Linked DNA regions of Homo sapiens: regions 1 and 2 are each linked to region 3. The links are contacts of gene promoters, found by promoter capture Hi-C in blood cells and fetal thymus (Javierre and others, 2016). All regions are on one chromosome and are shown on one strand. The core of a region is centred on a gene start or on the middle of the fragment in contact, and the rest is flanking DNA. Distances in the headings are between cores, read along the strand shown. Region 1 overlaps USP12-DT (USP12 divergent transcript). Region 2 has its middle 5.5 kb from the start of LINC00412. Region 3 holds the start of NUP58 (nucleoporin 58).

Region 1 (3,102 bases), core at 240-2,739, 1.9 Mb before region 3:
AACTTTCCATTTTGTGTTGAGCGCCAGGCACTATTTGAAACATGTTTTATCGTTGTAACATAATTATTACCCTTATTTTCCAGATGAGGAAAGTGAAACAAAGAAATATCGATTTGAGTATTTTTTTTTTGTAGCTTAAACCTTCATGCAAGTCCGAAAGGAGTCGTGCCTCTCAACCTCATCCTGTCAGAATCAAAATAAAATACTTTTACAAAGCTAGTGTAGTGGAGTGGACACAGGTGTGGCTCCTGGAGCTAGGTTCAAACCTTGGTTCCATTGCTTACTAGTTAGTTGTGCAACCCTGGAAAAGTTATCTCTGTGCCTTGGTTTCCTTATCTAAACGTGGGGATAATCGTAACACCTGCTTCATTAGGTTGTTGCAAGGATTAGATAAAATGTTTACACCCCTTCTTGGACCACTCCCCATCACTTTCTTTCCCAACCCATCACAAGCAAAGCTTCACGAATCATTTATGTGAGCTGGTATAAACCCACATGCCTTCAGGGAGAAAAGAGGTAGCAGAACTATATAATAAAGTGACTTGTGTTAAACTGTTGAACAGAATGAGTAAAGGAAAATTTGAGGCAGACTGTAAGGAACTGGAGAGTGTAGGATTGTGTAACAGTATGCAAATGAAAACATTATAAAATGCTGTGCTGACTAAATGGATTAAGGTTGGACATAGTTCATTTACTTGCCTGGTCCCTGAGGCATCTGGGCATATTTTGTAGTTTGCATATTCAAGAAGGCCGAAAAGGAGTCAGTTGTACACAAACTCATCTTTTGCTAGGCACAGGGAAGCTCTTTGTAAAGCTGATTACACAGCTGTGTAAAGCTGTGTTCTAAAGCCAGATTACCCTTTCCAAGCTCAGGGTGCAAAAGTGTGGAGTTTCAGCCAAACTTATTCTCCAACTGCATTACATATGGTAAAGAACACTCAGTACAACACCTAGCACATAGATTCAAGAATGTCTCTTTTATGTTTGTGTCTCTCCAATCGACCATAGGCTGTGGAGACAAGGCATTGTGAGGCTCTGTGATTAGGTTTCATGACTTTACCTGTGAATTTAGATGGCTCCAACATCAACTAGACATGACTCCAGATAATTCTATCAGAAATCCATTTTACTTTTTAAAATTTAATTTAATTTAATTTTTGAGACGGAATCTTACTCTGTCGCCCAAGCTGGAGTGCAGTAGCATGATCTCGGCTCACTGGTTTTTCCCAGGTTCATGCGACTCTCCTGCCTCAGCCTCCCTAGTAGCTTGGATTACAGGTGCTCGCCACCATGCCCAACTAATTTTTGTAGTTTTAGTAGAGATGGGCTTTCTCCATGTTGGCCAGGTTGGTCTCAAACTCCTGACCTCAAGTGATCCGCCCGCCTTGGCCTCCCAAAGTGCTGGGATTACAACAGGCGAGAGCCACTGTGCTGTATTTTTGAGATACTGTTTCAGTCTGTCGCTCAGGCTACAGTGCAGTGGTTCAATCATGGCTCACTGCAACCTGGATATCTCGGGCTTAAGTTATCCTCTTACTTCGCCTCACAAGTAGCTGGGACTATAGGTATGCGCCACCATGCACCACGTATTTATTTTTATTTTTAGTAGAGACAAGGTCTCACTATGTTGCCCAGGCTGGTCTTGAACTCCCTGGTCTCAAGGAAGTTGGAAGCCATCCTCCTGCCTCAGCCTCCCAAAGTGCTGGGATTACAGGCCTGATCCACTGTGCCCAGCCTAGAAATTTATTTATTTATTTATTTTTGAGAGAGTCTCACTCTGTCACCCAGGCTGGGGTGCAATGGCACAATCCCAGTTCACTGCAATCTCCACCTCCAGGATCCAATCTATTCTTATGCCTCAGCCTCCTGAGTAGCTGGGATTACAGGCGTACACTGCTACGCCTGGCTAATTTTTGTATTTTAGTAGAGACGGGATTTCACCACGTTGGCCAGGCTGGTCTCCAACTCCTGACCTCAAGTGATCCACCTGCCTCGGCCTCCCAAAGTGCTGGAATTACAGGTGTGAGCCACCATACTCAGCCTAGAAATTCATTTTAGAAAGGCCTTGTTCTTATATAAACTTATATGTAAAGCCAGTGGCTTTTGTTCCTGTGACATGTTCGGATTAATGGACAAGGAGGCATATGGGTGGTTAGCGGGATGGAGGCAGGTCTAAAATTCTGGCACATCAGACCTGTTTGCTGGAATAGAACAGCAAGTGGGAAGGACAGGATGACCACAGCTATTTATCAGGACGGGCACACAGATGGGCATGGTGACACTCGGACAAGGCCCAGGTAGGCCCTAGAGGTCTAAGATGTAGAAACCCTTGTCCAAACAGGGGGTAGAAAAGAGCAAGAAAGAATTCAGGTGGGTGATGCTTGCAAGTATAGAGAGGAAAGCCCCTGGCTGGGGTATCAGGGCTCTTGGCTTCCATGGAGGCAGGCGCTTGGAGATCCAGTCCGGCTACCATGGGGCTTGGCTATATTCAATCTGCATTCCCCCCCCAAGCAAGCTTATAATGGAATCACTATGGAAACAGTATTCATGTACCAGAAGTCTATTTTTCACTTAAATTTTGTTTGAATGCTTTTTGTTTTTGAGTGCTTTGAACCCTTGAGGTGAGGCATTTCTGATTTTACAGCTCTGCCTGAATTCAGATCCTCAACCCCACTGAATTAGGGGAACCCAGAAAAGTACCCCATCACGAGTTCAATCAGAAAATATCACAAGCTTTCTAACATAATAATTTATGAAGTTATTCTACTCACTTGAACTACTTTCTCAAATAGGAAAAAATAAAGCTGAGCTGCCAGGCATGAAGAACAGGGTGCAAATATGAATTTTATAAAAGGAGAAAGAGGAACTACCCATGCCAGTAGCCAGCACTGCCTAAGGATTTCTCACAGGGCATTTTTCTTGCTTGCGGGCTTCCTGTCTCTGGTAATATCATCATCACTGCTGGCTTGAGATCCTCCCTATTTTGCAGCTCAATGTGCAGATATTTAGAAGCCTATTATAAATTTATCGCCAACAGGCCAACAGGTTTCGCTCCTCTCCTTCCCCCATTACTTATCTTTCTTCTTAATTCAAAGAGTTAAA
Region 2 (3,254 bases), core at 67-2,566, 1.9 Mb before region 3:
GATCCCACTTTGAGAACCACTGTTTTCTCCATCTATGTAAACACACTGTATATGTTTTTTTCTAAATTGTTTGAGAGTGGGTCACACATATCTTTTCCTCTTTAGGCCATATACTGTACTGATTTGTGTCTCCTAAGAATGAGGACATTCTCTCATATAACCACAGTACATTTATCAAATTCAGGAAACAAAACTGATACAATGCTTATATCAATTTTTTTTTTTTTTTTTTTTTTTGGACAGAGTCTTGCTTTATGGCCCAGGCTGGAGTGCAGTGGCATGATCCTAGCTCACTACAGTCTCCACCTCCTAGGCTCAAGCCATCCTCCCACCTCAGCCTCCCAAGTAACTAGGACCACAGGTGCCACCACACCCAGCTAATTTTTTAATTTCTTATAGCGAGGGGGTTTCACCATGTGGCCCAGGCTGGTCTTGAACTTCTGAGCTCAAGTGATCTGTCTGCCACAGCCTCCTAAAGTGTTGGGATTGCAGGCTCCTGGCTGGTATCACATTTACAATCCACATTTCAAATGTCAGTTGTCCCAATAATGTCCTTTATGGCATTTTTTTTTTACATGATCCAGTCAGAAATCATATGTTGTATTTATTAATAGTCGCTGTGTCTCTCTTAGCTTTTAATCTGAAGCACTTCAGCCTTTTCTTGCCTTAGGTGACATTCATGTTTCTCTAGTCTGCAGGTCAGTAATATTTGCCCTGGTATAAGCAGCGTTTTCTCCCTTATGTGCCATCTGTTTGCACGAAGATCACGCAAATATCTTGCTTCTAAACAAACTTTCCCTCCTGGATTAAGTATTCATCGTGATTCTTGCAATTTTTACTGTGATGGTTACAAAGCGGTGATTTTCCAGCTCCACTTCTACTTCCACATTAAGGAAAGGGTTTCCTTTTTTCCCTATTCATTTATTTTATTCGTTCATTTACATGTCTAAATGTTAACCTCTTTTCCCTTTCCCTCTAAACCAATTGTGTTCCTCAGGGATGTCAGAGTCTCCTTTAAAGGACAAGGTGGAAAGTGAGAGGGTAGAGCCCAGGCCCCTCACCCTTGCTGCTCCCCGAGGAGTGCCACATTTATCTGCTTCCTATAGTAAGGTTCATTTACAAAACAAGCGGTCTGCTACTTTTTTAAAAGTTTGAAAACCACCATCTTAAATAAATATCCTCTGTGCCCATTACAAAAAAAGAAAAAAAGAATGCTTAATCTTTTTCTATAGACAGTTGAGAATCTGACTCGTTTTAACCAAAGGCATGACAGTGGTAGTGATAGCTGATATTTCCTGAGGGCTCATTCTATGTGCCAGTAAGCACTTACAAATATTATCTTACTTAATTCTTATGAAACTCCTAGGAGGTAATGGGTGGTACCTATTCCTATGCATTTAGAAGATTCTACAGTGTACAAAAAGTCGCTCTTCAGGTTTTTCCATTGCTGTTTTGGGATTGAGCTTTCTCAAGTCACCTACGTCAGCTGGCATTTGTCCATCTGTTTTTCAGCTTTCAAAATGTTGCTGTTATTTTTTATCTTCCCCATGCATATGGTTTAGGTCGTTAGACACACACACACACCCACACACACACACACACACGCACACACACCCAATGGGATTCTCGGAGGTAACAAAATTAGATGAGGGTATTTAATCCATCATTTTAATCTGGAGCCCCTAGGGATGAATTATTTAGATGCAGGATACCTAATAATTAGTTTAACTCATATTGTTTTAGCTGAATTGGATGTTGAAGGCATTCCAATACTAAATGAGGAGTTGGGTTACGGAGTGGACATTGGGACATTGTTTTTTAGCTACTCAAACTCATTCCTTCTTCCTACTAGACCTCCATTTACTTGGGGGCCTTAACTCCTGTCCCATGTGCATATTCTTAGGAAGGTACTCCCTACCCACATCAAAACTAAGGGGACCAGAATTGCACTCTCCCTGCTCCAATAAACATAGGGTAGACATCCCTTCCAGTCAACCCCCTCCCTGACTAAAAACAATATTCTGATTTCTGTTTGATTCATTGATTGAGATGGGATCTTGCTATGTTATATAGGCAGGTCTTGAACTCCTGGCCTCTAATGATCCTCCCACCTTGACCTCCCAAAGTGCTGGGGTTACAGGCATGAGCCAGCCTGCCTGGCCAATATTCTGATTTCTATAACCATAAGTTAGTTTTGCCTAATCTTGGATTTCCTATGAATGGTACCATACAGTTTGTACTTTTTTTTCCTGTGGCTCTTTTTGTTTAGCTGAATGTCGTTGAGAATCAATCATATTGCATGTACTAGTAGTTCAATTCTTTTTATTGTGAAAGTAGTATTCCACTGTAGAATATATCACAATTTATTTTTCTGTTCTCCTCTTGATGGCAGTTTGAGTTGTACATAATTTTTGTGGGTCTCGCTGTGTTGCTCATGCTGGAGTTCAGTGGTGTGATCATAGCTCACTACAGCCCCAAACTCCTGAGCACAAACAATCCCCCTATCTCAGCCTCCAGAGTAGCTGGGACAATGGATGTGCGCTACTGAGCCCAGCTTAGGAGTTACATTCCTTGATCGTAAGGTAGGTGTATTAGTCTGTTTTCACGCTGCTGATAAAGACATACCTGAGACTGGGTAATTTACAAAAGAAAGAGGTTTACTTTGACTTATAGTTCCATGTGGCTGGGGAGGCCCCACAATTATGGTGGGAGGTAAAGGCACGTCTTACATCACAGCAGGCAAGAGAGAATGAGAAAGATGCAAAAGTGGAAACTCCTGATAAAAACATCAGATCTCATGCGACTTATTCACTACCATGAGAACAGTATGGAGTAAACCACCTCCATGATTCAAATTATCTCCCACCGGGTCCCTCCCACAACATGTGGGAATTATGGGAGTACAGTTCAGGATGAGATTTGGGTGGGGAACGCGGAGGCAAACCATATCAGTAGGTGTATGTCTAACTTCATAAAATATTGCAAAATGGCTTCCCAAAGTAAATCCCAATTTTATTAGCATTTTTCTCTCAAGAGGATAAGGAATTTATTTTTACTATAGCCTTTTAAAATAGGTTTGTGTCATTAGCTCCAATGTACAGATCTGAAAAACAAAGTGGCTTCCTGATTCACTAATGGTCAATGTGTCTCTAGTTTGAGACCGTTAATATAAAGAGAATAAGAAAAGAATTGAAGCTTTAAAAGAAATATGAAGTAAATTACATGTAGAAAATAGGAAATATCAAAATTCATTC
Region 3 (3,372 bases), core at 859-3,358:
TAGTGCTGAGATCTGACAACAAACAAGTTAACAATAAATATAACAAACTGATTACAATTGTGATCAGCACTCTAAGAGTACTAGGAGAATGGAAATCTCCCCTAGACTGACAGGTCAGAAAAGGCCTCTCTGGGGAAGAGACCATTTGATATTTGCAAGGAAGGGGCTGGCAAAGCCCACTTGAAAAGAGAAAAGGCCATGTTGCTAGGACAGGCTTTCTAAGATCAGGACCATGAGAGAAATATAAAAATTAATTCATCAAGTCATAAGCAACATTAAAAAAAAAAAGAAATAGAAAATATCAAAGTGCATCCCATGAAGTAAGGGTATCTTTCTCTGAAACTTCATTTCAGTTATTTAGGGTGGTAGTTGTGTGTTTGTTTTTAACAGTGGGTCTGCATAGCTAAAATAAAAAGATGGGCTCAAGATGAGTCCCGCTCAAGATGAGTCCCCAGAGGTTCCAGCAGAAGTGGACCTTGCAGACTATGGTAAGTTTTTTTTTCTTTTTTAAACTTCATTCTAACGATGGCGGGTAATGATTAAAGAGAGAGCAATGGGAATTTTGTTTTTCAATTACTCTGGCTAAAATGTGGCAGAACAGATTGAAGAAGTTGATTGGAGTAGTTTTCATCTAAAACAAGAAAGACAGCTGGTTAAAAATCTGACAAGAATCAAAATTATTTTCATAAGAATGTAAGGATCAAGAGAGCAAGACTCTTAATACCTAAAACAGAGCCTTGCACATGGGAATCTGTCCAATAAATATTTGTTCCACGAATGACAATAGCCTAAGCAGGGTTGTGGAACTGGAAATAAAGACAAACAGAAATGGCAGAAGTAACATTATCAGAACCTGTTGTTGAGCGAGTAGAGTAAGAATAACGGAGGTATGGATGAAAATTCAAATTTCTGAATTGACTGTGTAGTCCGTGGTTCCTCCTCCCTCCCTTTTTAAACTGCAGGTCATGCTTAAGTATTTGCCTTTTAAATCTACAGCCACATCTTTTAAGCTTCAGGAAGTATCTTGTTGACAGTGTGCACACTCCTTAACTTTATGAACCCCTCCACCTTTATCTTAAAAAAAATTGAGTTCTAAAGCTTAAATCTCTCATTAAAATGTCTCACCACTTTGTTTCTTTCTGGATAGTTATGTTTTTGTCGCCACCTGAACTAATGGGTTGCACAAAAACAAGGAACATGCTACCTACGTTTTGTAATTTAAGTAAAAGACAAATTGAGTTATTACAACACAACATTCTCGCATCAGATATACTAATCTGCACATACTGCAGAAAATTACCACTAATAAACACTGTAAAAAAGTGTTTTTGTTTTTTTTAACAAAAACAGATAAGGTCCCATGTGGCACAAAAGCTTGAAAAGCTGGTTAAAAACCACAAAGTTATTAAAACACCGTCATATCCAAAACCGCAAATGCTGCAATGAAATCGGAATTATCTATCATAAAACTCCACAGTATGCTATAATTTCATTCATTCATTCAATGTTCATTCTATGCCTAAGACTGACACATCGCTAAAGCTCCGGGGTAGACCCCAAGGCCCTTCCACGCAGTCAAGACCCCACTAGGTCCAAATAATGCCTGAACTATACGTGGATTCTGGAAACCTCACAGCACAGAACCCATCCCGCCCTCCACTTCACCAGGCCGCGCTGGGCCCGGGTACCGCGGCGAGAGGCCTACGACGCCGGGCGGCTAGATTAAGTGCTTCTCTCCAGCCCCACTGGGAAGGAAGCCAGAGGGAAGAGACAGGATGGGGACACCAAGGGAGCTTTGCGGGGGTGGGGGTGGGGGTGAATCCGGCCCAGGAAGGCGAGAAAGTGCGGTTACCTAGACGCTCCCGTTCCGAAGGAGAAAACGCCGCCTGTGCTGGTCCCGCCGGCGGCCACGGTGGTGGAGCCCAGAGTCCCGGACCCGAAGGAGAACCCTGTGGACATGTCTGGCCAGGGCTCGACGCCGTCAGCAAGGCGAAATGGGTCTGGGACACTTCTCTCGCCTCAAAGCCGAGGCGGGCCGGGCAGCATCTCTCTCGCCCGGCACGGACCTGGCGGGAACTTCCAGCCCCAACGGCGGCGAAGGCAAGGCTGAGGGGGTGGAGCAACCACGCAAAAGTACGCCCGGCGCTCGCCGCGCGCACGTAGCCCGCCGGAAGTGTAACCGTCACGCAATGAGCCCTGGTACGTGAGTGGGGGACGGCGAGCCGCGCAAGGTACGCTGGGACCAGGCGAGAATAGGCGTACTGCCTAATCTCTTAAAGGAGTAGGCTCCCAGAGTTTAAAAACAGTAAAACCATTTCTGTCATTTTTTAGTTCTTCTATCGTAGCATCTGTACTGACATAATCCGCACTTTAGGGTGATGAATGTCAATTGCTACTTCTATCTAGCCTCCTGCCAAAATTGATGCTCAGAATCGCAGAATCGGGGAGGTCCCTCCTGAGCATCTCTAAGCTCCCCACTCAGAAAAGGAGGCGGCTTCGGGCTTTCGTTGGCTGCCGCCCCATCCCTAAGAAGGAAGGGGAGCGTGTCTGCTTCCTGAAGGTTCGGAAATCAATCGAAAATAATCCATGCAACCGTCCCACGACGTGAGCCCCACCCCTGCGCCCCAGGCCTCGCGGAGCCAGTTGGTCGCAGTTGTTGCGAGCCCGACGCCCAGCCCCGAAGGGGGCCCAGAAGAGCGTCCCAGGCGTCCGTGGGGTGGCCGGCTGTGGTCCTGGCGCCCAGAAGTGGCCAGGCCCGCTGGATTTCCTGGGATGCGGTCAAGTCCACAAATACTGTCCGTGCATCCTGATGCTGGAGGGCGGGACCTTGGGCCGAGCGAGTGTGGCTCCGCCAGAAGGGCCCTCGGACACAACCGGTGCTGGAGGAACTACAAAGTGGAAGGATTAGGAAACGCACAGGAACATGTACGAAAGAAGGCGAAATGTGAGGTGTAACTTACATTTCTAGGATAACTCAAGAAAAATTCGCGTTTAAAGAGAACCTCTCTGGCGAAGCATCAGGAAAGGCTTCCTGGTGGTGGTGCATTCGAGGGTTGTCATCATAGTGTTAGTTTTTATTTTTCCCTCAGGGATTGTTACATTACTCCCCCAAATGGTTTTCCTACTCGTGATCTCTAACAAAATCCATCCCATAAGCAACCCCCGGATTTATGATCTAAAAAGCCCAGTGGCTCTTTAGTTTGGCACTTGATGACCTCCGTATGATTAGTCTTTCTAACCTCATCTCACAGTTCTCCCTAATTCAGTACTTTAATCTTCCGTTGAGCTTGGGCATTGCCACCAGCTGTGGACTGAACTATTTCCCTCCTCCCCCAATCCATATGTTAAAGCCCTACCCCACCCCAATATGTT

Evidence for each region. Contacts are between HindIII fragments. The CHiCAGO score rates a contact against its expected background, and 5 or more counts as called.
Region 1: a contact is called between a fragment that was not itself captured here and the fragment with the promoter of NUP58 in region 3, in 2 of 17 cell types (total B cells and total CD4 T cells). The highest score is 6.4, in total B cells.
Region 2: a fragment that was not itself captured here is called in contact with the fragment with the promoter of NUP58 in region 3 in 1 of 17 cell types (neutrophils); the score reaches 5.9 in neutrophils.

The regions. Positions count from the first base shown.
Region 1 is chr13:27,172,501-27,175,602 of GRCh38, reverse strand. All of the region lies in intron 1 of USP12-DT (USP12 divergent transcript), which reads right to left. Among named protein-coding and RNA genes, the nearest start is that of USP12-DT, 1.8 kb to the right of the region's middle. RefSeq lists an enhancer at 3,016-3,102. The HindIII fragment of the contact is 2,057 bases long and covers 461-2,517 here.
Region 2 is chr13:27,241,148-27,244,401 of GRCh38, reverse strand. No RefSeq gene overlaps it. Among named protein-coding and RNA genes, the nearest start is that of LINC00412, 5.5 kb to the right of the region's middle. The HindIII fragment of the contact is 3,762 bases long and covers 1-3,197 here.
Region 3 is chr13:25,300,361-25,303,732 of GRCh38, reverse strand. It overlaps NUP58 (nucleoporin 58), which reads right to left and starts at 2,108. Exons shown (of 16, transcript NM_014089.4): 1 at 1,853-2,108. The coding sequence starts at 1,959. RefSeq lists enhancers at 1,813-1,862, 1,973-2,052, 2,213-2,452. The HindIII fragment of the contact is 2,784 bases long and covers 1,377-3,372 here.